3 separate regions of the Homo sapiens genome follow, and regions 1 and 3 are each linked to region 2. Evidence: promoter capture Hi-C in 16 types of primary human blood cells and fetal thymus (Javierre and others, 2016). All regions are on one chromosome and are shown on one strand. Each heading gives the region's core, a stretch centred on a gene start or on the middle of the fragment in contact. The rest is flanking DNA. Distances are from core to core; before and after follow the strand shown.

What was found. Contacts are between HindIII fragments. The CHiCAGO score rates a contact against its expected background, and 5 or more counts as called.
Region 1: a contact is called between a fragment that was not itself captured here and the fragment with the promoter of FAXDC2 in region 2, in 5 of 17 cell types (activated CD4 T cells, naive CD8 T cells, total B cells and 2 more). The highest score is 8.2, in activated CD4 T cells.
Region 3: a contact is called between a fragment that was not itself captured here and the fragment with the promoter of FAXDC2 in region 2, in 1 of 17 cell types (monocytes). The highest score is 6.0, in monocytes.

Annotation. Positions count from the first base shown.
Region 1 is chr5:154,472,196-154,476,314 of GRCh38, forward strand. HAND1 (heart and neural crest derivatives expressed 1) reads right to left here. Exons shown (of 2, transcript NM_004821.3): 2 at 2,777-3,715. The coding sequence ends at 3,611. Among named protein-coding and RNA genes, the nearest start is that of HAND1, 4.0 kb to the right of the region's middle. RefSeq lists enhancers at 238-1,209, 1,210-2,181, 3,852-4,119 and a silencer at 3,510-3,697. The HindIII fragment of the contact is 1,058 bases long and covers 1,115-2,172 here.
Region 2 is chr5:154,849,130-154,853,036 of GRCh38, forward strand. FAXDC2 (fatty acid hydroxylase domain containing 2) reads right to left here and starts at 1,474. Exons shown (of 9, transcript NM_032385.5): 1 at 1,354-1,474. The HindIII fragment of the contact is 21,500 bases long and covers 1-3,907 here.
Region 3 is chr5:154,514,566-154,518,765 of GRCh38, forward strand. No RefSeq gene overlaps it. Among named protein-coding and RNA genes, the nearest start is that of HAND1, 38 kb to the left of the region's middle. The HindIII fragment of the contact is 7,100 bases long and covers 1-4,200 here.

The sequences.
Region 1 (4,119 bases), core at 394-2,893, 380 kb before region 2:
TACCCTTATTCCCACAAGTCAGAGGTAAAGGTGTGAAAGTTTTGATGTATATTCTTCCAATTTTTCTCCACGAATAATATTTTTTTATTTTTACATGAAAAGGGTCACAATGGACAGTGTTTGGTGTAATATGGGAGGAGGTTTTCTCACTTAATATATCGTGAACAATTTCCATGTCAATTCCCACATTTTTTCTAATGGCTGAATAGTAACCCACTTGTACTGATGGCTTTATTGAGCCAGTTCTGTAATTATAGGACATCAGGTTCTTTCTCGTGTTTCACTCTTTAATAGAATAGTCCTATAGTTAACGTTTTGTAACATCAATATTTCCTTGCAGTAAACTCCTGGAATTTACTTTTAAGTTGGTAACCATTCCATTTTTCCCATTTTTTAAAAAAGATGTATTTAATTCAAAAATAATAAATAATGACCCTGCTTCTGCCACAGCTGATTTGAGGTGTCTGACAAACCTCGTTGAAACCTGGGCAGAGAAGAAGAAACTAAACGTTAGACTCTAAAGATGTTTTCAAAGAAGGGAGGGCTAAGGAGGGGTGGGAGCCTGGAGAGCCAGGGTGGCAGCGAGAAGGGCTGGACCCCTAGTCTGCAGACCCTCAGCACAGAATGGTTTGTGAAACCTGGGGCAGCTCCGAGCCGTTCTCTGTGCTCGGCTTTTCCAGCTGTGCGGTGGGAGCTGGGGATGTGGCGTGGGCGTGGGAGGCCGCTGGAGTCAGGCGTGGGGAGAGTGGGGGACTATCCAGTGACCCTCTCAATGGGCGCCGGCTCCGTCTCGGCTCCCGGGTTCAGGGACTGCACGTTTCTGAGACCGAGTTTAGGGCTCCAAGGCTCTCTTCCCAAAGAGGGTTTGGGGCCAGCAGGATTGGGTTTTCTGAAGAGGCCTGGTTATGCCAGACTTGGCTTTGGCGGCCGCTGGCGGGTCTCCCTCAGCACCCCCTCTTCTTTCCCCGGCTATAAGAAAGCTAGACCAGGGTGCGCATTCTTCCCGTGCCTAGGATACTTCACGGTGCTAAAAATAGTCCTGGGAGCTGGGACCTGTGTATAGCCAGAGGTTTGTGTGTGAGCGAAGTTGGAGTCCTGGGTTCGAATCTAGATAAGCTTCCCTCCGTGCTGTGGGGCTTAGATCACCTCCCTCCCTGAGTCTGTTTCTCCATGCGCGCCGGAATTTCTAAACGGACTCCCAGAAAGAAACGGAAAGAAAGAAGGTAAAGAAAAGAAAAACAAAACAACAAGAAAGAAACTTTGATTTTTCTCTCTGCTCCTCCCCAAGGGCCCTGGGGCCTCGGGCCGGGTACTGAGGCCGAGGAAGGGGTGCGTCGGACAGGCTCATTACCGCCAAGTGTTGCCCTAGTTAAATCGCGGGCCTGTTTGATCTGGCGGCGGGTGGCGAGAGGGAAAAAAGAAAAAAGTAGGGGGGCGAGAGTAGAGAGAGAAGCTCACACCTCCCCCACTGTTTCCTAGCGCCCATAAAACACCTTTTATTAACTCCTTCGCGTCCGGAAAGGCCCGCGTGGCCTCTCGGCCCCTGCTACGGTGTTTACAGCCAAGACTAATGGGGTCCCATATTCACCCCGACGCTGGGACAAGGCGCCTGGGGCACGCCTGGTGCCCCACGAGGCCCTGCCCCGGAGCTGCCTGAGGTCTCCTTTCTTGTTCCCAAGCCGAGCGCTCAGGCTCCAGGTGCGCAGAGCGAAAGTTCCAAGACAGCCTCACGGGTCTCCCCTCCTCCTTCGCAGTGAGCGCCGCAGACCCTCAGGCGCTGCAGAGCGTGCGCTCCGTGGGGCAACCATGGGAGCTGTTGGGAGACACAGAAGTGCTTAGCGCAGTGCCTAGCACACAGTTGCACGCAACCAAAGTATTCGTACATTATTATTCCTGGAAGTATAAACCACTGCGTTTGCCCGCCCCAGTTTAGCCCAATACGCATCCAAGATCCTTGGCAAATGCACCGAATTTATACCCACCACACCTAGTCATGGGTGCGCATGAGAGAACACAAAGACTGGCTCTCCTGCACAAGTGCCCGAATGAGCACGCATACACACATACACCCCATCCCTTTGCACAAATCCATATGCTCTCACAACCTTCTGTCGAGTGCTTCGTTGCTAAAGAGAAACCTAAATACCTCAATTTAACATATAAGCACTCACAAGCTTATTTTACTCAGGTATAAAATAATAATAGCTGCTGTGACTTGTCAAGTCCTTACTGTGTGCTTGGAGCTGTACTAAGCAGACCCTTGTTGGCCCCTGCACAGCCTCAGGCTCCGTATGAGTTGCTGCACTGTCACATGTACATCTATATGTTGAGAATTTCACATACATGAACATATTCCCCACCAACACCCCCTCTCCTGAGCTACCCTGCCCCAGGGATAGGATTCACCTGTGTGCTAGGCCCCCTTCCCTCCCAATAAACACTCCAAACCACTCTTTGCAGACACCAGTGGGCATACTAACCTCCAGACAAGCACGAATACTCAACGCACAAAAACCCGAGCCCAGGCCCTCTGAGACTAATTCGTTTCCGTTTTTGTTCTTCCCCGTTCCCATAAGTTACCCCCACCTCCCGTTCTAGTCTAAAGAGAACTTTGCTCTTGTTCTTGAAATACATTCTTTATCTGCCGGCTTCCCTTGATTTCAAGTTTGGTTTCGTGTTTATCAAAAGAAGAGGAGCAGGAACAGAGGCTTTCCACCTAGCAGAAGCCATGGGAGTCGGTGAGGGACCCCGGTTGAGACATGACACAGGCTTCAGATGATTTCAGAAAATGTTTTATTAATCAAGAGCATAGACACTGCTTTGGCGAAGGGAGGGGGGCTGTGAGTGGTCACACAGACTTGAGGTAGAAAAGGGTTGGGGATGGCAGGATGAACAAACACCTGAGCACAACAGGCATGGTAGGTAGTTTAAATACATAAAAACTTTCCAACACAGGGAAAGCTTTTATTTAGATAGAAACAAAAAGGAAGGAAAAGAAGGAAGAAAAGAGAGAGACAGAGAAAGAGAGAAAGTGTTTCCCTTGGAACTAAACAGGAAGTGCAGCGACAAAAAGAAAAATAAAATAAAACCACCACGATTCGAAGAACAAAGGGCAGCCTTTCATCTTCCTGCGTCTGGTTCTCTTTCTCAGGCAGAAAAGAATTGATTCCTTATTGCATTTTAATTAGAGAAGACGGCGTCGGGGCGGATCATATGGAGGGACAAGAGAGAAAGAGCCAGATAGGGAAATGGAGATAGGGCTGAGGTTCTAAATTCGCTCCAAAAGGGTGGAAGAGTGCGTCTTTGAGCCCTTGGGTTCGACAGTCCCTCCTTCTTGCATGTTGCCGCCAAGGGCCGCCCTCGGTTGGGCTGGGGGTGGATATATATATATTTCTCTTTCTCTTAATGTATTAAAAAAAATCAAAGGACATTGCACGTGCGATCCAAGTGTGTGGTTGCAGCCGACGACCTGCCGGCGCTCAGCAGAAGCTCCGCGGGATGCGTAGCACCAGTCGCCGGAGCCCAGAGCCTGGCGTTCGCCGCTGCCTTCCTCTCCTCCCGGGGCTTCAGGAGTGGCTGGCCTGGCCAGGTCCTCGGCGCGGGCCTCGGCTCACTGGTTTAACTCCAGCGCCCAGACTTGCTGCGGCCAGCCGGTGCGTCCTTTAATCCTCTTCTCGACTGGGCCCAGGGCAGGAGGAAAACCTTCGTGCTGCTGCTGCCAAAGGACACACAGAAGAAAAGAGGCGGGAGAGACAGGTTTTAATTTTTCTGCTCCGATCGCCCGGCATGGGGTAAGATGAGGAGGAGGGGAAGGTGTCGGGAGCAGTAACTGGGAGTCTTTAAATAAGTGACGGATTTCTGTTTGCGAAATAGGCAAACAGGCTCGTAAATTTGCCTTTATGCGCGGAGTTCCTGGGACCCGGGATGGGCTGGGCAGCTTCGGGAGGTTTGGTAAGGAAAATGTTCTGCGTCTGGTGAAACTGACGCGCGTTGATTTGGCTTTAGGACACCTAAGGGAGATCCCAGGATATTGGAAGGGAGGGGTGGAAATCCACGGTTCTCCCGCTCTCGCTGCACCCCACACACTTCCGCCAGCCTCCCAACCTGGTTTAAACATCA
Region 2 (3,907 bases), core at 224-2,723:
ATTAGCTGGGTGTGGTGGCGGGCACCTGTAATCCCAGCTACTTGGGGGGCTGAGGCAGGAGAATCTCTTGAACCCAGGAGGTGGAGGTTGCAGTGAGCTGAAATCGCGCCACTGTACTCCAGCCTGGGTGACAGAACGAGATTCCATCTCAAAAAACAAAAAAAACAAAAACAGAAGATGAAATGCATGAAAGGAAAGGTTAAAAATGATTCCCATGGGCCAGTTTTAGTAATACTCTCTTCACTCCTTTTGCTGCATGGTACTTGCACCCTTTGAGCTTACTGTTCTGCTTGATTGCATGTCCATGAGGCCGAGAATCTGCCTGTCTTGTTTACCACGAGATCCACAGAATCAAGCCCAAGCCTGGCATGTAGAAGATACTCAAGAAAGATTTGCCGAATAAATAAGAGATACACGAATCAAAAGCATTGCTTTTTGCCCTCAAAAAGTGTTCAACATTTGCTATGGAACATTTTAGCACCATTCCCTTGTGCTAATTACTTTCGTAACTAAAGTTAGAAGCTGATGCTCAGTGCATCTGTGTTTTAGCAAATTGAATTGAATCTGTATATCCCACTCAAAGAAATTTAATTGGAATTGCACATGAAACTGAAGCAACCCACAAATCAGCATCTTGTCTTGCTTGCCTTAAGCCCCAGAAGGTCCTGAAAGCCACTGTTCTATTGTTCATCTCCACCTACACACTTTACTGTATGCCCTTTACTCAATAACCTTCGTGGAGTGTTTCCATAGGTACTATCAAGCCACTAACGATTTCACAACTGGAGCCACTGTTGGTAAATCCAAGTATGTTGCATCAAAACAGTTTCAACCTACTTGTCTAGCTCATAGCCCACACATCTATCCAGAGACTTTAAAACTGTTGTATTTTGCCCCATACCTTCCTGGTGATGGCAGAGTAGAGATGAGAAGCAATTAGGCAGCAGTTGCTTCCCAACAGTCTCTTCCAGTTTGTTCTGCCTCTCATTTGAGTTCTGAATTAGGAGTTGCTCCTTTACAAATGGTTTTAAAGTCAAACAATTACTTGTCCATTACAATCACCTGTCAATTGCTAGAAAAATTAGACTACTGAGGAGGTAGATGGTACAAACACAGGCAGAGGATACAGACATTAGTAAGAGACAAGGAGGCGACTGCACTACAGCAATGTCCTAGGACAAATTCTAACCCTGCCATCTAACCCTGTTTAGAGGCAAATCTAACCCTGCCATAAGTAGAGAGGACAGGGTGGTGGCAGAGGTGGGAAGAGTGTTGTTTTGCCCTTACTTTAAGTGAACCTGGACATGTCCTGACCTTTGCAAACACCACCCCTCCCCCGTAGTTCCCACTTACCTCTGCAGTGGGCTGTGTCCAAGCTGCTGAGGTCCTTGCACAGGTCAAATCTAAGTTCTCTTCCCTTTCAGCCCCCGCTTTGGTGGCTGTTGCTGCTGCGGCTCTGCTGCAGGCTAACCTTGTTTTTGCTCGGGTGGGAGGCTGGCCATGGTGATCTCATTACAGAGCTGCGTACTGGCTCGGACCAGGCACGTGATGAAAAAAGTTTGGGTCTGTGTGGGCTGGAAACAAAACACCCTTCTTTCCAGAGGGCATGTCCTTAAAGCGGAAAGGGAATCTAAGCTCAAGCAGGAACTTGAAAAACGTGCATTTGGCCAAACTCTGGGCTTCCCTCCCCCTGCCCCCTTTTTTTCTTTTAAAAAATTTTCTCCATCATCTGCAACTTAAGAAAATGTCGCTGTCCCATAGGAGGAGGCAGATTCAAGAAAAGATGTGGGTGTCAGATAATGGCAGGTAGTACAAGTTGATAAAAAGGTGACAGAGACCAGAGGATCTCATTTTCTTTTTTTTCATTGCTTCTTTTCCTGTGGAGGGCAGGCAAGGGAGGAGAGATGCATCAGCTATTTCTAGTGAGTCTAGATGCAGGAAAGGCATGCCTGTGGAGGGTAAATTTGCACTGTGATTGAAATAGGGGAACTTAGGATACAGGACCCATGACATGAAGTGAGGAGCACTTTGGAAAAAGAGCTGCTTTTAAATTTCTGAAAACTTTTTAAATAAGCAAATGTGCAAATGATATAAAATACAATAGGGTCAAAAGAATGTACAATGAAAAGTCTTTTTTTAATTTCTCCTCAGTCCCCTTTTTTTCCTCCCAAGAGACAACCTCTGTGACCAGATTTTTGTATATCCTTCCAGAGCTTACCTCTGTAAATAGAAACATGTGTAGGCCTTGTGCTTCTCCTTTAGCAACAGCACCATAGTATGTTTGTTGTGCACCTTGCTTTTTCCACTTAACAATCAAACATGGAGATTGGCTAGGCATGGTGGTGCTCACCTGTAGTCCCAACTATTTGGGAGGCTGAGGTTGGAGGATCACTTGAGCCCAGGTATTTGAGACCAGCCTGGGCAGCACAGGAAGACTCCTTTCTAAAATAAACAAAACTCAGAAACTTGGCTGGGCACGGCGGCTCACATGTATAATCTCAGCACTTTGGAAGACCAAGACGGGAGGATCACTTGAGGCCAGGAGTTCAAGACCAGCCTGGGCAATGTAGCAAAACCCCATTTCTACTACATATACAAAAAATTAGTAGAGCTTACTGGCACATGTCTGTTATCCCAGCTACTGGGGAGGCTGAGGTGGGAGGATGGCTTGAGCCCAGGAGTTGGAGGCTGCAGTGAGCTATGATTGTGCCCTGCACTCCAACCTGAGTGACAGAGTGGGACCCTGTCTCTAAAAAACAAAACAAAATAAAAAATGCCGGGTGCAGTGGCTCATGCCTGTAATCTCAGCAATCTTTGGAAGGCTGAGGCAGGAGGATTTCTTTTTTTTATTTTTTGAGATGGAGTCTTGCTCTGTCACCCAGGCTGGAGTGCAATGGCATGATCACAGCTAACTGCAACCTCCGCCTCCTGGGTTCAAGCGATTCTTCTGCCTCAGCCTCCCGAGTAGCTGGGACTACAGGTGTGCGCTGCCAGGCCCGGCTAATTTTTGTATTTTTTTTTTTTAGTAGAGATGAGGTTTCACCATATTGGCCAGGCTGGTCTTAAACTCCTGACCTCATAATCTGCCCACCTCAGCCTCCCAAAGTGCTGGGATTACAGGCATGAGCCACCACCGTGCCTGGCCTGGCAGGAGAATTTCTTAAGCCCAGGAGTTAGAGACCAGCCTGGGCAACATAATGAGGCCCTGTCTCTAAAATAAATAAAACTGTCAACAACAAAACATGGAGACTGCTCCATATAGTACCCTTAAGAGCTGCCATGTTCTGTTTAATGGCTGCCTCCCGTCCCATTGTATAGATGTGTCATACTTTATTTGGCCAATAAAGGACCATGTCTTCCTCATTTTCCTTGCCTAATTCGTTGCACAAAGCAAGGGCTCAGTAAACATTCAATGCTTGCTCACAAATTAATTACATTTTGTACAACTTGTTCATGTTTTTCCTCATCTCTCCTTTCAGAGATACTAATTTTTTTCAATATTCCAGATATTGCAGAATGTCTATATTTTCCAGCTGACCAAGTCTATCTTGTGCACTGAACAAACCTGTGCTACCAGACTTCCAAGACTCACTTTAGTTTGGCTCCTCTCAGATGATATTATTTCCTATTCCCTCCTACTTTCTATTTTTTAATTTTTTTATTTTTATTTTTGAGATGGAGTCTCATTCTGTTGCCCAGGCTAGAGTGTAGTAGCACAATCTCGGCTCACTGCAACCTCCGCCTCCTGGGTTTAAGCGATTCTCCTGCCTCTAAGCGATTCTCCTGCCTCAGCCTCCAGAGTGGCTTGGACTACAACAGGCGCCTGCTACCACGCCTGGCTAATTTTTTTTTTTTTTTTTTTTTTTTGTATTTTTAGAAGACTCAGGGTTTCACCATGTTGGCCAGG
Region 3 (4,200 bases), core at 648-3,147, 330 kb before region 2:
AACCCTAGGTCTCCTCTCTCTCCTCCACCTGGTGCTCCAGGGCTATCCCAATCTGGGTTAGTCTCTGTCAGCCTTCCCAGCCTGCAACATCATGCTGCCACCACACTGAGCCATAAAAGACCCTTCCCCGTTGCTTGGCCCTCAGCACAAACTGCCATGTATATGCACATCCCTCTCTACACCGAGGGCTCCATGGGGCCAAGTTACCAGTGAAGTCCCTTGCCTCCTGAACATTCCAGGCATCATCTAAAGGCAACACGCTGGGTGGCAGCTCTGCCAAGTCCCTGGAGCCTCCAACTGCAAAAGCAAGAGTTTTGTCAGCGAAGTTGTTCTCTCATTTGCCTTTTCACCTTCCTGGGTTCAGAGCACTGGTCTGGAGCCAATGTATCCAGACCTTCATCTCACTCTGCACCAGTTGGTTCTGGGAGTGCAGATAAGCCCCTCCCTCTGTGAGTCCCCCTTTCCTCTTCTGTAAAATGCAGAAATTGGCTCACAGTGTTCTCCCAGAAAGTGGCTCAAAATATTCTCCCAGAATGCCCTGGCTTTGATTTCCATCTGGCTACTTCAACTGATATTCATTTATCCAGCCACCCATCCTTCCACCATCCAATAATTTTTCTTTTTTTTTTTTTGTATGTATTCTTTTCTTTTATTTCAATGTAACGTGCTTGCATGTGGCAAAATTTTCAGCGTAGGGGTTAGAAAGTGAACACCTCTCGGCTGGGTGCAGTGGCTCATGCCTGTAATCCCAGCACTCTGGAAGGCCCAGGCGGGTGGATCACGAGGTTGTGAGTTCGAGACCAGCCTGGCCAAGATGGTGAAACCCCGTCTCTACTAAAAACACAACAATTAGCCGGGCGTGGCGGTGGGCACCTGTAATCCCAGCTACTCAGGAGGCTGAGGCAGAGAATTGCTTGAACCTGGGAGGCAGAGGTTGCGGTGAGCCAAGATTACGCCACTGCACTCTAGCCTGGGTGACAGAGCAAGACTCTGTCACAGAAAAAAAAAAGAAAAGAAAAAAAAAAAGAAAGTGAATACCCCTCTTAGTCACAGCCTCTAGGTTAGTGATTTCTAAACAGGGTTTCAGGGAGAGCAGGGGTTCCCCTCAGAGAACATTTGGCAATGTCTGGAGACATTTCTGGTTGTCACAGCTGGGGTTGGAGAGTGTGCTACTACTGTCATCTAACGGATACCTGCCAGGGGTTTCACAATGTTGGCCAGGTTGGTCTCGAACTCCTGACCTCATGTGATCTGCCTACCTTGGCCTCCCGAAGTGCTGGGATTACAGGCGTTAGCCACCAATCCCAGCCACAAGTGTGTATATTTTAAAAACCCAAATAGGCTCCAACTGCAGTTTTCTTTATTCCTTTTTAAATTTTTTTTATTTTATTTTTGAGACAGAGTCTCATTCTCTCACCCAGGCCTGGAGTGCAATGGCACAATCTCGGCTCCCTGAAACCTCCGCATCCCAGGTTCAAGCGATCCTCCTACCTCAGCCTCCAGAGTAGCTGGGACTACAGGCGCCTGCCACCACACCTGGCCCTCTTTATTCCTTTAATAACACTGGCAGTGACATTTCAAACACTTAGGAGCTTGCTGCTAGAATCATATTGCCTAAATTTATTTATTTATTTATTTATTTATTTATTTATTGAGATGGTGTTTCGCTCTTGTCGCCCAGGCTGGAGTGCAGTGGTGCAATCTTGGCTCACTGCAACCACGGCCTCCTGGGTTCAAGTTATTCTCCTGCCTCAGCCTCCCATGTAGCTGGCATTACAGGTACCCACCACCATGCCTGGCTAATTTTTGTATTTTTAGTAGAGGTGGGGTTTCGCCATGTTGGCCAAGCTGTTCTCGAACTCCTGACTTCGGGTGATCCTCCTGCCTCAGCCTCCCAAAGTGCTGGGATTACAGGCGTGAGCCACCGCACCCGGCCAGGTTGCCTAAATTTAAATGCTGGTATCACCACTTACTAGATGTATGGCCTAATCCCTCCATACCTCCATGTCTTCATCTGCAGAGTGGGGATGATTATAGTACTTACCACATGGCATCACATGGGATTAGTTATTTATTATGTGCGTTCCTTTGTATCTGGCTGGAGGTGGCAGCAGATCACTGTGCTCACTGCAGAGATGAGGACACTGAGACTCAGAGTCAGGCAGTGACTTGACACAGCCTGTCCAGTAAGTCAGTGGCACTTGGTGCTAGCTCAGGGCTCTCTCCAGTGTAAGCAGCACTTCTGATAAAGGTATGTTTTTTTTGGCCCGGTGTGGTGGTTCATGCCTGTAGTCCCAGCACTTTGGGAGGCTGAGGCAGGAGGATCGCTTGAGCCCAGGAGTTTGAGACCAGCCTGGGCAACATGGCAAAATCCTGTCTCTACAAAAAATTTAAGAATTAGCCAGGCGTGGTAACCCATGCCTGTAGTCCTAGCTGGTCAGGAAGTTGCGGCAGGAGGGTTGCTTGAGCCAGGAAGGTTGAGACTGCAGTGAGCCATGATGGTGCCACTGCGCTCCAGCCCAGTTGACGGAGCGAAAGCCTGCCTCAAAAAAAAAGTATATTTTTTGCTTATTTGTTTGCTTTATTCTGTTTTGTTTTGGGGAAAGATCCAGAAGACAGCAGGCCATCAGCTCTGTGCTACAGGGTAGCAGAGAGTTCTGCGTCAGGCCTCAGGGCATCTTGGCAGACACCTCCCTGTCCCCAGTTCCCAGTCTCCCTCCCCACTGTGGCTCAGCCTGGCTCTCCACTAGGCCGGGAGCAGGCTCTGCCTTATCTCCAGACGCCTGTTATCTGCACACCCATCTGTGGACAAATGGCCAGCCGGCTGGCTCCTGGGCACCCCTGCCTAGAGGGGAGTCCGCCTCTCAGGCCTGTGTCTGGCAATTTGGGCTGGAGCCCAAGGTGGGGGGTCTCCCAATGGAGGAGGCCCCGCTCAGCCCTACCCCTGGGGCTTTAAGCCCTAAAATGATGCTGCTTAGACATTCCATTCATGGGACAGGAATCCGGGCCAGGAAAACCATCCCATCCCACCATCCTTCCCTCACTTCGTTTCACATCAGGCTCTGTAAGGTGGGTAAGGGCCGCAATTGTCATTCCCATTGAGCAAATGGAGAAACTGAAGCTAAGTGAGGAGCTGTGTTGTGTTGCAGGTCACAGAGCAAAACAGCAGCCTTTCAGGGACTAGAACCTAGGCCCCTTAGCTCCCATCCTAGCCTCCAAGAAGGAGAACTCGCAGACCTCATGCTCCAGGCCCCACCCTGCCATAGATGCCAGGGGCAGGGGCACAGTCATGTCCATTCTTTGGGCCTTAGTTTCTTCACCTCTCAAGCAGAGATAAAAGTGGGTGACAGGGAGGAGCCTGTCCTTAGCTCCAGAAGGCCAGGGAAGCAGCAGGCAGAGTCGGGCAGGGCGTGAAGCACGTGGGGCTCTGGGCTCACCCTGCTGGGGCTCAAGTCCCACTTTCCCCGCTTATCTCAGTGTGACTTTGAGCAATCACTTGACCTCCCTCTCTGTGCATTGGTTTCCCCATATGAAAAAAACAGGGGAAGAACAACACGAGTCAACCTCCATGAAGTGCATAGCACGTAATGAGTGCTCATAAGTGTGAGTTACTGTTGTTTTTGTTCGCAGGAGAATATGGCGTAGTAATTACAGTATTGGGGTTGACGAACTGGCTGTGCTGTGTGACCTTGGGCAACTGACTTAACATCTCTGAGCCTCTGTTTTCTCATCTGTAAAACAGGGGCAGTGTGTCTTTGAGGCTCTAGTGAGGGTCTTGGCACAGATTGTGGCCCCATTGGCTGGGGTGAAGCTGGGAGCTGCCAGTGACCTGCAGGGAGGGGTGCCTGCCTGAAAGATGGAGACAGCCTGCAGGCCTTTGTTTACAGAGCCCATCTCTCCTCTGATGGATGCGGCCAGCAGAAGTCTGTTTGCAAGTTTCTCCTGGAAACATGAATCAAGGTCTGTTTGGAGAACACGTGCGCTCCTCTGTCAAACATTCCACCCGTGCTGGGGCCACAGAGCCTTGAGAGCAGAGTGGGTCCCAGATTGTCCCCAGAGATAGGGGATAGGCCAGGATACCCAGCCCCTCCGGCCAGGCTTCAGAGGGGACAGCCTGGGCTCCGAGACAGATGCCCTCCCTGGCCTCAAGGAGCTCTCTAGAAAGCAAGATAAGACCCGGACTCGACCAGAAAACAGGGA